3 separate regions of the Homo sapiens genome follow, and all the other regions are linked to region 2. The links are contacts of gene promoters, found by promoter capture Hi-C in human tissues and cell types (Jung and others, 2019). All regions are on one chromosome and are shown on one strand. The core of a region is centred on a gene start or on the middle of the fragment in contact, and the rest is flanking DNA. Distances in the headings are between cores, read along the strand shown.

Region 1 (3,227 bases), core at 419-2,918, 160 kb before region 2:
CATTTGACTTAACTAAAACCATGTGTATCCTTCAGGGTTCTGAGAGGACACAGAATTCATCACAGGTGAATGAAGACTCTCTTCATTCCTCAAATGGAGAGATTTTATGAAGAACTATTTACAGATGTGTGAGCAGGATTATGGAAACACATCAGAGATTAAAGATATGCAGAGATTAGCAACGTTGGAAGTTATTAGCACCCCAAAATTCGAAAGACAAGGAACAAATAGAGTTACCAGAGCTGGGTGAGAGCTGGAAGGCAAAGGCGAGGCCACCTGGCAGATGCTGAAGTCATGAAAAGAGGTTTCCATTTGTCCTCTCCCTCCAACCTCTGATGCCCTGCCACTGTCTCCTGGGATCAAATCGACCTGGCAGTCAGCCAGCAAGAGGTTGTAGAGTTGCAGGCTACAGGGATCAGTGTCCCATGGCATAGAACAGAGTGGAGATGGGCAGAGAATGGATTGGGGAAGGGAGTGGGGCAGAGAGAGAATAACCTGCACATCAGTGGAACCTCTGGCACACCCATGAAATTGCAACATCCGAACTTAGTCTTAGGTACTTCTAGAATCTTTCCTCCATGATCAGCAAAGGGAAGACTAAATCTGCATCTCTCTCCTGGCCCATGTGCACACATGTGTATGAGTACATGTGAGCAGGGCACACTGGTTAAAGATTCTGAAATCAGACTGATCTTGGATCTTAGCCCTGTGACTCACTAGTTCTATGATCTTGGATAAGTTACTTAATTTCACTAAGCTTTATTTTGCTCATCTATAAAATGAGGATAATAATAATACTCAGCTTAAATGGGTTTTATGCCAATTAAATGAAATAGTCCCTGTAAAGTGCTCAACACAGTGCATGACACGGAGTAAAGACACCGAGCAGCCCTCAGTAGAGGCTGATCCTTTCTGAGTCCCTCTTCCACAGAGGATCACCCATCTTCCCAAAGCCAACAATTTTTAGGACCAATCTACTCTAAATTCAAATTAGAGGCAAGACAGACGATCATTTTTCAAGTCTGCAAAGACTCAGTCCTGCTAAGAATGCACTGAACCCATATCTTACATGAAACATCTGCATTGCAGCCAATAGGGTGACATCAGGGCCCCCTCAAACAGGGGGCAGTGATTGCTTCACATCTATCTGACCAAGGGCCCGTTGGTGATTTTCCCCAAATGAAGAAAGTGGTCCATAAATAATAGAAAATTACTAGCAATGTGAAAATCATACTTTTCCATCACCCATGATAAGAGAAATACAAATCAATAGCCCTGGCACGGTGGCTCACGCCTGTAATCCCAGCACTTTGGGAGACCGAAGTGGGCAGATCACCTGAGGTCAGCAGTTTGAGACCAGGCTGGCCAACGTGGTGAAACCCCATCTCTACTAAAAATACAAAAAAAATTAGCCAGGCATAGCTGTGCGCGCCTGTAATCCCAGCTACCTGGGAGGCTGAGGCAGGAGAATCACTTGAACGCAGGAGATGGAGGTTGCAGTGAGCCGAGATCGGGCCGTAGCACTCCAGCCTAGGTGACAGAGCAAGTAGACTCCATCTAAAAAAAAAAAAAAAAAGAAAAAGAGAAAAATACAAATCAAAACTACAGTAAGATACAACCTACTCCTTACCATTAAGATGATTACTCTTAAAAAACAAACCAAACAAAACAAAAAAAAACAGAAAATGAGTGTTGGCAAGGATGTGGAGGAATTGGAACCTTTGTGCACTGTTGGTGGGAATGTAAAATGGTTATAGCCACTGTGGAAAATAGTATGGAGGTTCTTTAAAAAATTAAAAATAGAATCACCATATGATGCAGCAATTCTACTTAGGACTATGCACTCCGAAAGAATTGAAAAGAGGGTCTCAAAGAGATAGTTGTATACGTATGTTTATGGCAGCATTATTTACAATAACTAAGATATGGAAGCAACCCAAGTGTCTATTGACAGAGGAATGAATAAGCAAAATGTGGTCTATACATGCAATGGAATATTATTCAGCCTTAAAAGGGAAAGAAATTCCAACATGTTCTACAACATGGATGAACTATGAGGACATTATGCTAAGTGCAATAAGCCAGACACAAAAGGATAAAATATTGTATGATTCTACCTAAATGAGGTGATTAGAGTAATCAAAATCATACAGACAGGCAGTGTAACGGTTGTTGTCAGAATGAAGGGAGGGGGAATGAGGAGTTACTATTTAATGGGTGTTGAGTTTCTGTTTTACCAGGTAAAGAGTTATGTAGATGAATGGAGGTGATGGTTGAACAACATTATGAGTGTATTTAATACTATTAAACTATATACTTAAAAATGGTTAAGATGAATTAGTTGGGCACGAGGCGGGTGCCTGTAATCCCACCTACTCGAGGGGCTCAGGCAGGGGAATTGCTTGAACCTGGGAGGCAGAGGTTGCAGTGAGCCGAGATCGTGCCACTGCACTCCAGCCTGGCAAAAGAGCAAGCCTCTGTCTCAAATAAAATAAAATAAAAAATAAAAAAATAAAATGGTTAAGATGGCAAATTTTGTTGTGTGTATTTTACCACAAAAAATTTAATAATATTTAAATATGGTCTCACTCTATTGCCTAGGTTGGAGTGCAGTGCTGCAGTCACAACTCACCGCAGCCTTGACCTGCTGGGCTCAACTGATCCTCCCACCTCAGCCGCCTAAGTATTATTGATAGGTTGAATAAAAGATACCAGTTTTACACAGACATACTTGCTATTTTTAACACAGTTGCAGATTTAGGCCCTACAAACAGAGGAATTCTGATCAGTTCTATTTCATGTAATTCCCATGAGGTACCACCACACCTGGTGAATTTTTTCTTTGTAGAGACAGGGTCTTGCTCTGTCACCCATTCTGGTCTGGTCTTGAACTCCTGGGCTCAAGTAATCCTCCCGCCTCAGCCTCCCATAGTGCTGGAACTACAGGTGTGAACCACTATGCCTAGCCCATAATTTTTTTAAAAAAGGTACTTTTCCAACTTCAAAAAACAAAACAGAACAAAATGTCAGTGTGTTCAGGCTGCCGTATCAGGCTAGCTGACTTAAACAACAGAAATTTATTTTCTCACAGTTCTGAGGACTAGAAGTTCCAGATCAAGGTCTGGCTGGGTCACGTTCTGGTGAGGGCTCTCTTCCTGGCTTGCAGAAGGCCACCTTCTTGTTGTGTGCTCACAGGGCTTTGTCCTGGTGTGTGCATGTTGAGAAAG
Region 2 (3,280 bases), core at 279-2,778:
ATCACATAAATCATATTTAACAATGAACACATGAAACAATTTATCACCTAGTTTAATATTCTGCTTGACTCATCTAAATCTTGTTTCTCTTACAGAATTTCCATCTGTGTCCACTCTATTGGAATAATGCTGTTTCTGTATACTTCTACAATGCCTGCTTTACTATTGAACAGTAGGTATGAAATGGAGTCCTCAATGGGATTATCTCATTCATGGATACATCTTTTGATAGTAGAAAAACAAAAGTATACATAGGTTGGGGGAAAGACAGAAAAAGCAGTTGCTGAAAAATAGCACCTGATGGTGAGTAATGGACAGCAATCAGGTTTTTGTTATGTTTTCTTGTTGTTTTTGTGACAGGGTCTCCGCCCTCTGTCACCCAGGCTGGAGTGCAGTGGTGTGACCTCGGCTCACAGCAACCTCTGCCTCCCGGGCTCAAGTGATCCTCCCAACAGACTCCTGAGTAGCTGGGACTACACGCATGTGCCACTTTGCCCAGCTAATCTGTGTATTTTTTGTAGAGATGGAGCTTCGCCGTGATGGCCAGGCTGATCTTGAACTCCCGGGCTCAAGTGGCCCGCCGGCCTCGGCCTCCCAAAGTGCTAGGATTACAGGCATGAGCCACCGTGACCAGCCTAGCAATCAGGTTTTTATCTGTTTCGGGTGTGGGAGAGGCTAAGCTAAGCCAGAATTCAAAAGAAAGGAATATATTCATAATTAGTTACACTTAGGGTGAAAAATAAAATTTCAGAGAGAGCAGAATAGGAAAAAAAAATCATAATTTTAATAATTCACACTTATTGCACTATTGTTATTTCAATTTTACAGAGAAAAACAGGCATAGAGTGATGAAATAGCAAGTACATATATAAACAACAAATGGCAGAGCTGGAACGCCAATCCTAGCAATCTGAACCAGCATTTAAAAACGAGGAATTAAAGCACATAGGGTGAGAAAAATTATAGGGAAGGGACAAGAGCTCAAGGGGACACCTGGAAAAGAAATACTATAATTTAAAAAATTACCAACGGGCTAATTATACTTGTGTTTTACTGGCAGAGCGCTTTGTCTGTTAGCTCTTTTAATCCCGCTAATAATTCTGTGAGGTTGGTACTATAAGTTCCATTTTTCAGACAAGGACGCTTAATAGATGATAACGGACACATTCCCTGCTTGCTCTGATCTGCATCTCAACAGCTGGCTCTGGAGCAAGCAAAGGGAGACTAAGGGAAACAGAGCGGAGCAGGGCAAAGAAAGCCGACTGAAAGTGAGAAATGCAGGAAATGTTTCCCATCTAGGCAGAAGCTGGTTCCAGCATTCAAATCTCTCCAGCCGGCCCGCCACCACGTCACAAAGCCCGCCTCTCAGTGACAAAGCCCCGCCCCGTTCCCTTGGCTGTTCTCTGAGCTCCCAATACTTCCCTCCTTCTCTTTGGCCCCTGCTACCCCGCCTAGCATCATTTCCTGTGCGCTGGATGCTGATTGGTCCGACAGTCGGAAGTGAGGGCGGGCGGTGGGGGCCGTTGCCGCAGTGACAGTGCTAGGGGAGTCCGAAGATGGCGGCGTCGCGTCGCTCTCAGCATCATCACCACCATCATCAACAACAGCTCCAGCCCGCCCCAGGGGCTTCAGCGCCGCCGCCGCCACCTCCTCCCCCACTCAGCCCTGGCCTGGCCCCGGGGACCACCCCAGCCTCTCCCACGGCCAGCGGCCTGGCCCCCTTCGCCTCCCCGCGGCACGGCCTAGCGCTGCCGGAGGGGGATGGCAGTCGGGATCCGCCCGACAGGCCCCGATCCCCGGACCCGGTTGACGGTACCAGCTGTTGCAGTACCACCAGCACAATCTGTACCGTCGCCGCCGCTCCCGTGGTCCCAGCGGTTTCTACTTCATCTGCCGCTGGGGTCGCTCCCAACCCAGCCGGCAGTGGCAGTAACAATTCACCGTCGTCCTCTTCTTCCCCGACTTCTTCCTCATCTTCCTCTCCATCCTCCCCTGGATCGAGCTTGGCGGAGAGCCCCGAGGCGGCCGGAGTTAGCAGCACAGCACCACTGGGGCCTGGGGCAGCAGGACCTGGGACAGGGGTCCCAGCAGTGAGCGGGGCCCTACGGGAACTGCTGGAGGCCTGTCGCAATGGGGACGTGTCCCGGGTAAAGAGGCTGGTGGACGCGGCAAACGTAAATGCAAAGGACATGGCCGGCCGGAAGTCTTCTCCCCTGCACTTCGCTGCAGGTCAGAGACTTTTGAATTGTTTATTAAGGGTTATGGGTTTGGGTGCAGGGTCCGGTTAGGACAAGAAAACAGGTTATTGTGATGGGACAAAGTGGGGGCGTGGTTATGGTTCTTCATCACCTCACCAGAAGACTGGAGGTTCCTTTCTTTTGGTGGTGCCTGGGTGATGGGGGCGTGGTTGGGGGGGATAAGTGAATCCAAGGAATTCTTCAGTGGTTGCACAGTACTCATTACAAAACTCACTGTAGTTGGTAGTCTCTGCATATGGATATATTTACACTTTAGTTTTTGGTGTGCAGGAATACAGTTAGATTTGGACAGCTTTAGAGTAGTTTTGTCGTTTGTGTGCTAGTTTATTTTGTTTTTACAAGGGTATGTCCTTTGAGGACAGTCCAGACCAAAAGAGGTTTAATACAACCCAACACATGTTTGAGGATCTATTGTAGCCTTAATAACCCAATGAAAGACATAAATGAAGTGTTTGAAAGTTTCCCTTCTTCTAAAGAAGTTTGCAGTCTAGACGGGGAGACCAAAATATGCCAATGTGAAACAACTGGAGAAGAATATTTGGATGCATTATATGATGATGGAAGAAATATAGGCTTTGATGTTGTGGCCACTATTATTTGTTGTCTAGCAGACCATTTACCTCGTGTCAGTTGCCTCAGTTTTCTCATGGGCAAAAATCATAAAATGATGTTGTGCGAGCATTTGGTGAGAAGTATCTGGCACAAAGTTCTCCCTCAAAAAGTGTGAATTTCTTAAGCTCTGGACCCCACACTTGTCTTTTTTTTTTTTTTTGCAAGTAGTTGATGATTTTCTCTCAAAGACACCTAATAATATGTTTATAAAATAAAGAGAACTGTAAAATAAAAACAAAGGACCATAATCTCACTGCCTGGATACCTATTGTTGATATTTTAAAAATGTAGGTAATAATGTTTTATACATTAGAAACATTATATTGGAAATACATATATTGTACGTTATACAATTCAAATAGGACAGAAAAATACAAAATGAAAGGCATCACACAGAAACATCAGAGATA
Region 3 (3,258 bases), core at 463-2,962, 130 kb after region 2:
AACAAATCTAGCTGCTAAAATTACAAGTATCTGTCCTAGTAGATATGTAGTCCTTTTTTAGAACATTTCTATGTGTTTATTTAGAATTAGAAAGTCAGATTGTGTATTAATGAGATGATAAAGGTACTTTTTCATATGTAGTAAATCAGGCATATAAAGTTTATTTCCTGAATTTCATTTTAGAACACAGCGTAGAAGCGAATCCTTTTTTGGAAGTTTCCTAAATTACTGTATTATTGCTTAACTGAGCCCTTTTCTTAGTTTTTACTACAGTTCCTGGTTTGTAAATTTAAAAAGCCCATGAAAATGTTAATTTTGAAATGTTTTTGGAAAAGAAATGTCTCTTATACAGTGGTTAGTAGGTGGGGAATTTGCCTAGAGATATGTGGGGGTTTGAGACTTTAGGTTTTTTTTTAATGTAATATGTGGGATTATACAATGAGAGTGTAAATTTTAAGTACTCTTAATTCTATACTGTGACTTGATGATTATCTAATTAGGTAATATGTGAGAAGTTAATATTTTGTTTCCCAAAGACAATTGTTTTCCTAACCTTTAGAATTCTGAAAATTATAAAACATCAATAAGGTTTTATACAGTTTATATTGTTACTATGCTTTTATTTTACACATAAATCAAAATTGGCTCCTGGCTACACTAGAAATTTTATTGGCTTTTTTTTTCCCTAAAAGCAGAATTTTTTTTTGTTCTAAAATGCTACCTTTTGTTGTTGCTCTAAAATGATACTTTTATGCAATTATATACGTGTTATAATGATGACCACTTTTAGAAACATAGGGACATAGATGTTATTTAGTCATCTTCTACCTTCTGCCCAGTATGATTAGTCATAACAGTCCACAATTCATTATTGCCATTAGGTGAACCAGAACCTGAAAATAGGTTGTTGCCTTTCTAGAATTCTTTATTCCTTTATTTTCAAACTTGGATTTTTTGATCTTTAATCTCCCTTTACAGTGTTTTATATCAGTATCAGATGTTTTATTAGCTATTATCCACATGTTCTGGCCTTGTTTGATATCTAAATTTAAGGTGGTAATATTCTCTTGTTTTCCAGTGTTAATTTTCGTAAGGATACCTTTTATAATAAATGAAAATAAATATTTGAATAAAATTAGTCCAACAGTCAACTCTTTTGAGAGTTCTTTGTGGTTCCTCTCTGTGTTATTCTCCTTTTCTAGGTGTCTTTATCCCCTTCCAAAATAAATGTCCAAAATTATCCATTCCTCATCTTAATAGGCAATAGGTAGGGGTTAGGGACTATTGCACATATTTCCAAATAGAAATAATATGTATCTTTGAATATATCTACTCTGCCTACTGTTGCTACTAGTATATGTCACCAATTAAAAGTAACTAATATTTGATAGGTGCTTTTAAAATAACATCTCCAATGTAATTTTGAGTATTTCAGGTTTCCCTCTGCTCCTTTCATTCATTCATTCCACCAACACTTAATACCTACCATGTGTGGGTCACTGTGCTTAGTGTCATGGGAGATAACTATATGGTTGATGGTACTGGTTAACGGGGAGCTCAAACATTGGTAGAATGATTAAGACATTATGGAAGACATTGAAGCTAATGCATTAAAATGATACAGTATTCCTTTTGCGGTGATACAGTTATAAAGTGCTGATTTAAGGTGACAGTGTTTTTTCCTGGCCCTTTTAGTTTTAACGCTTTAGTATTTAGTATACCCTTCTGTAAGAAACCACAAATTTAGATGAGCAGGTAATTGGAGGAACATGATTTTAATTCAGAAAACTTAAGGATTTCTTTAAGTGTCAACTTTCTGTAAATATTTGCTTCCAAATAGTTAATAATGAAGATGACTGGAAACAGAGAAAAGTAAAGTGTTTGAAAACTACTTTCAAAAGGAAATCAATCAGAAATAAAGTAGAATTTAGTGAATTTAGTGCTGTACCTTGAAGACACCATAGAAAAACTGTGATAGGGCAAATAGACTGTAAGGTCAGAGGGATTGGGTTCTATTCTGCTTTCCAAGTGTGTGTCTATGGCTCTAGAGTTTTTAATTTACTCACTCTCAAATGGAAATAACCATACCCTTTCCACAAGGCATTTGAGAGGATTAAGTGAAATAATGTGGTCAGTATACCTAGTACAGTTTGTAGCACACAGTAACCTTTAGAAAATTAGATTCCTACTCCTTTGATAATTTTTTCTGAAACTTTCAAATGTATCTAGAATGGACACTTACATACTTTTAAGTACTCCAGTGTTCCCCTTCTCTCCACTTAAATGTCCTTATTGTCCAAGCTCTGTCCCAGCTGCCTTTGGATAAAATAACCTATAGATTGTCTTGTAATCTATAAAGCATATAATTTAATTAATTCAGTTGGAGCTTGGCCTTCCCCTCTCTTCACCCAGTGTCACATTTAATAAATAAATTTGTCTAAATTAGCAGCTTATAAATTCAGAAATACATTCTTGAGATATATGCCCATTTTTAAACACGTGTTGATTAAAAATTAATATCTGGCTGAAAATAATGCCATATATGGAATTCCATAAACCCCATCCAGTGAAGAACAAGAAAGATGGAGGATTAGTGTAATTCTTTGTATCTACATTTAAGTTTTAGGGTTGTAGAGTTTCTCATTATTCTTGATCAGTACCCCCGTCTCTCAGTATAACTTTTTTCCAAATACTGTGTTTGGCCAGGATTTTAACAGTCTTTATGTGGTAGGTTGTTATTTGGAGATGCCTCAATAAACCGTCCCTTTTATTACTCATGCCCTTGTCTAGCCCCCTGCCACACTGACTCTGGGCTTAGCCTGGGACTGCTTTGAATAAAATAAGGCGCAAGTGATACTCTGTCCTATTCAGGACACGCCCCTGAGTTGGCCTGGCAGCTGCTAGTTTCTTTTTTTGTAATTCTTCTTGGAACCCAGCTGCCATGTCATAAGGCAGCCCAAGCAGCCATGTGACGAGGTCCACATGAAGAACTGAGGCCCCTAGCCAACAGACCCACCTGAGTTCGTATGGAAGCTTCTTAATGATTCTAACTATTCACACGTCCCAGACAATTTAACCCCATCTGAGTTCCCGATCCATCTTTAGGGTGACATCAGCCATCCTAGCACCGTAGCTCATACCACATAGAGCTGAAGACCTGCCCAGGTAATTCACTGCTGTTGGGGTGGTTTGTTATGTAGTAATAGATAACTGAAATACCTGATTAAAAGAAAATATAACTCAATGCTTATTATCTAT

The links. The method cuts DNA at HindIII sites, captures the fragments that hold promoters and counts their contacts. A contact is called where the count stands out against the background at its distance.
Region 1: a fragment that was not itself captured here is called in contact with the fragment with the promoter of TNKS in region 2 in 1 of the 25 tissues and cell types used here (IMR-90 fibroblasts).
Region 3: a contact is called between a fragment that was not itself captured here and the fragment with the promoter of TNKS in region 2, in 1 of the 25 tissues and cell types used here (hippocampus).

Annotation. Positions count from the first base shown.
Region 1 is chr8:9,397,975-9,401,201 of GRCh38, forward strand. The region is part of intron 1 of LOC105379231 (a long non-coding RNA gene); the gene reads left to right. Among named protein-coding and RNA genes, the nearest start is that of TNKS, 160 kb to the right of the region's middle. The HindIII fragment of the contact is 4,654 bases long and covers 1-3,227 here.
Region 2 is chr8:9,554,384-9,557,663 of GRCh38, forward strand. It overlaps TNKS (tankyrase), which reads left to right and starts at 1,529. Exons shown (of 27, transcript NM_003747.3): 1 at 1,529-2,229. The coding sequence starts at 1,557. RefSeq lists enhancers at 1,212-1,873, 1,874-2,533 and a silencer at 1,632-1,791. The HindIII fragment of the contact is 13,693 bases long and covers 1-3,280 here.
Region 3 is chr8:9,683,276-9,686,533 of GRCh38, forward strand. The region is part of intron 5 of TNKS (tankyrase); the gene reads left to right. Among named protein-coding and RNA genes, the nearest start is that of MIR597, 57 kb to the right of the region's middle. The HindIII fragment of the contact is 5,513 bases long and covers 1-3,258 here.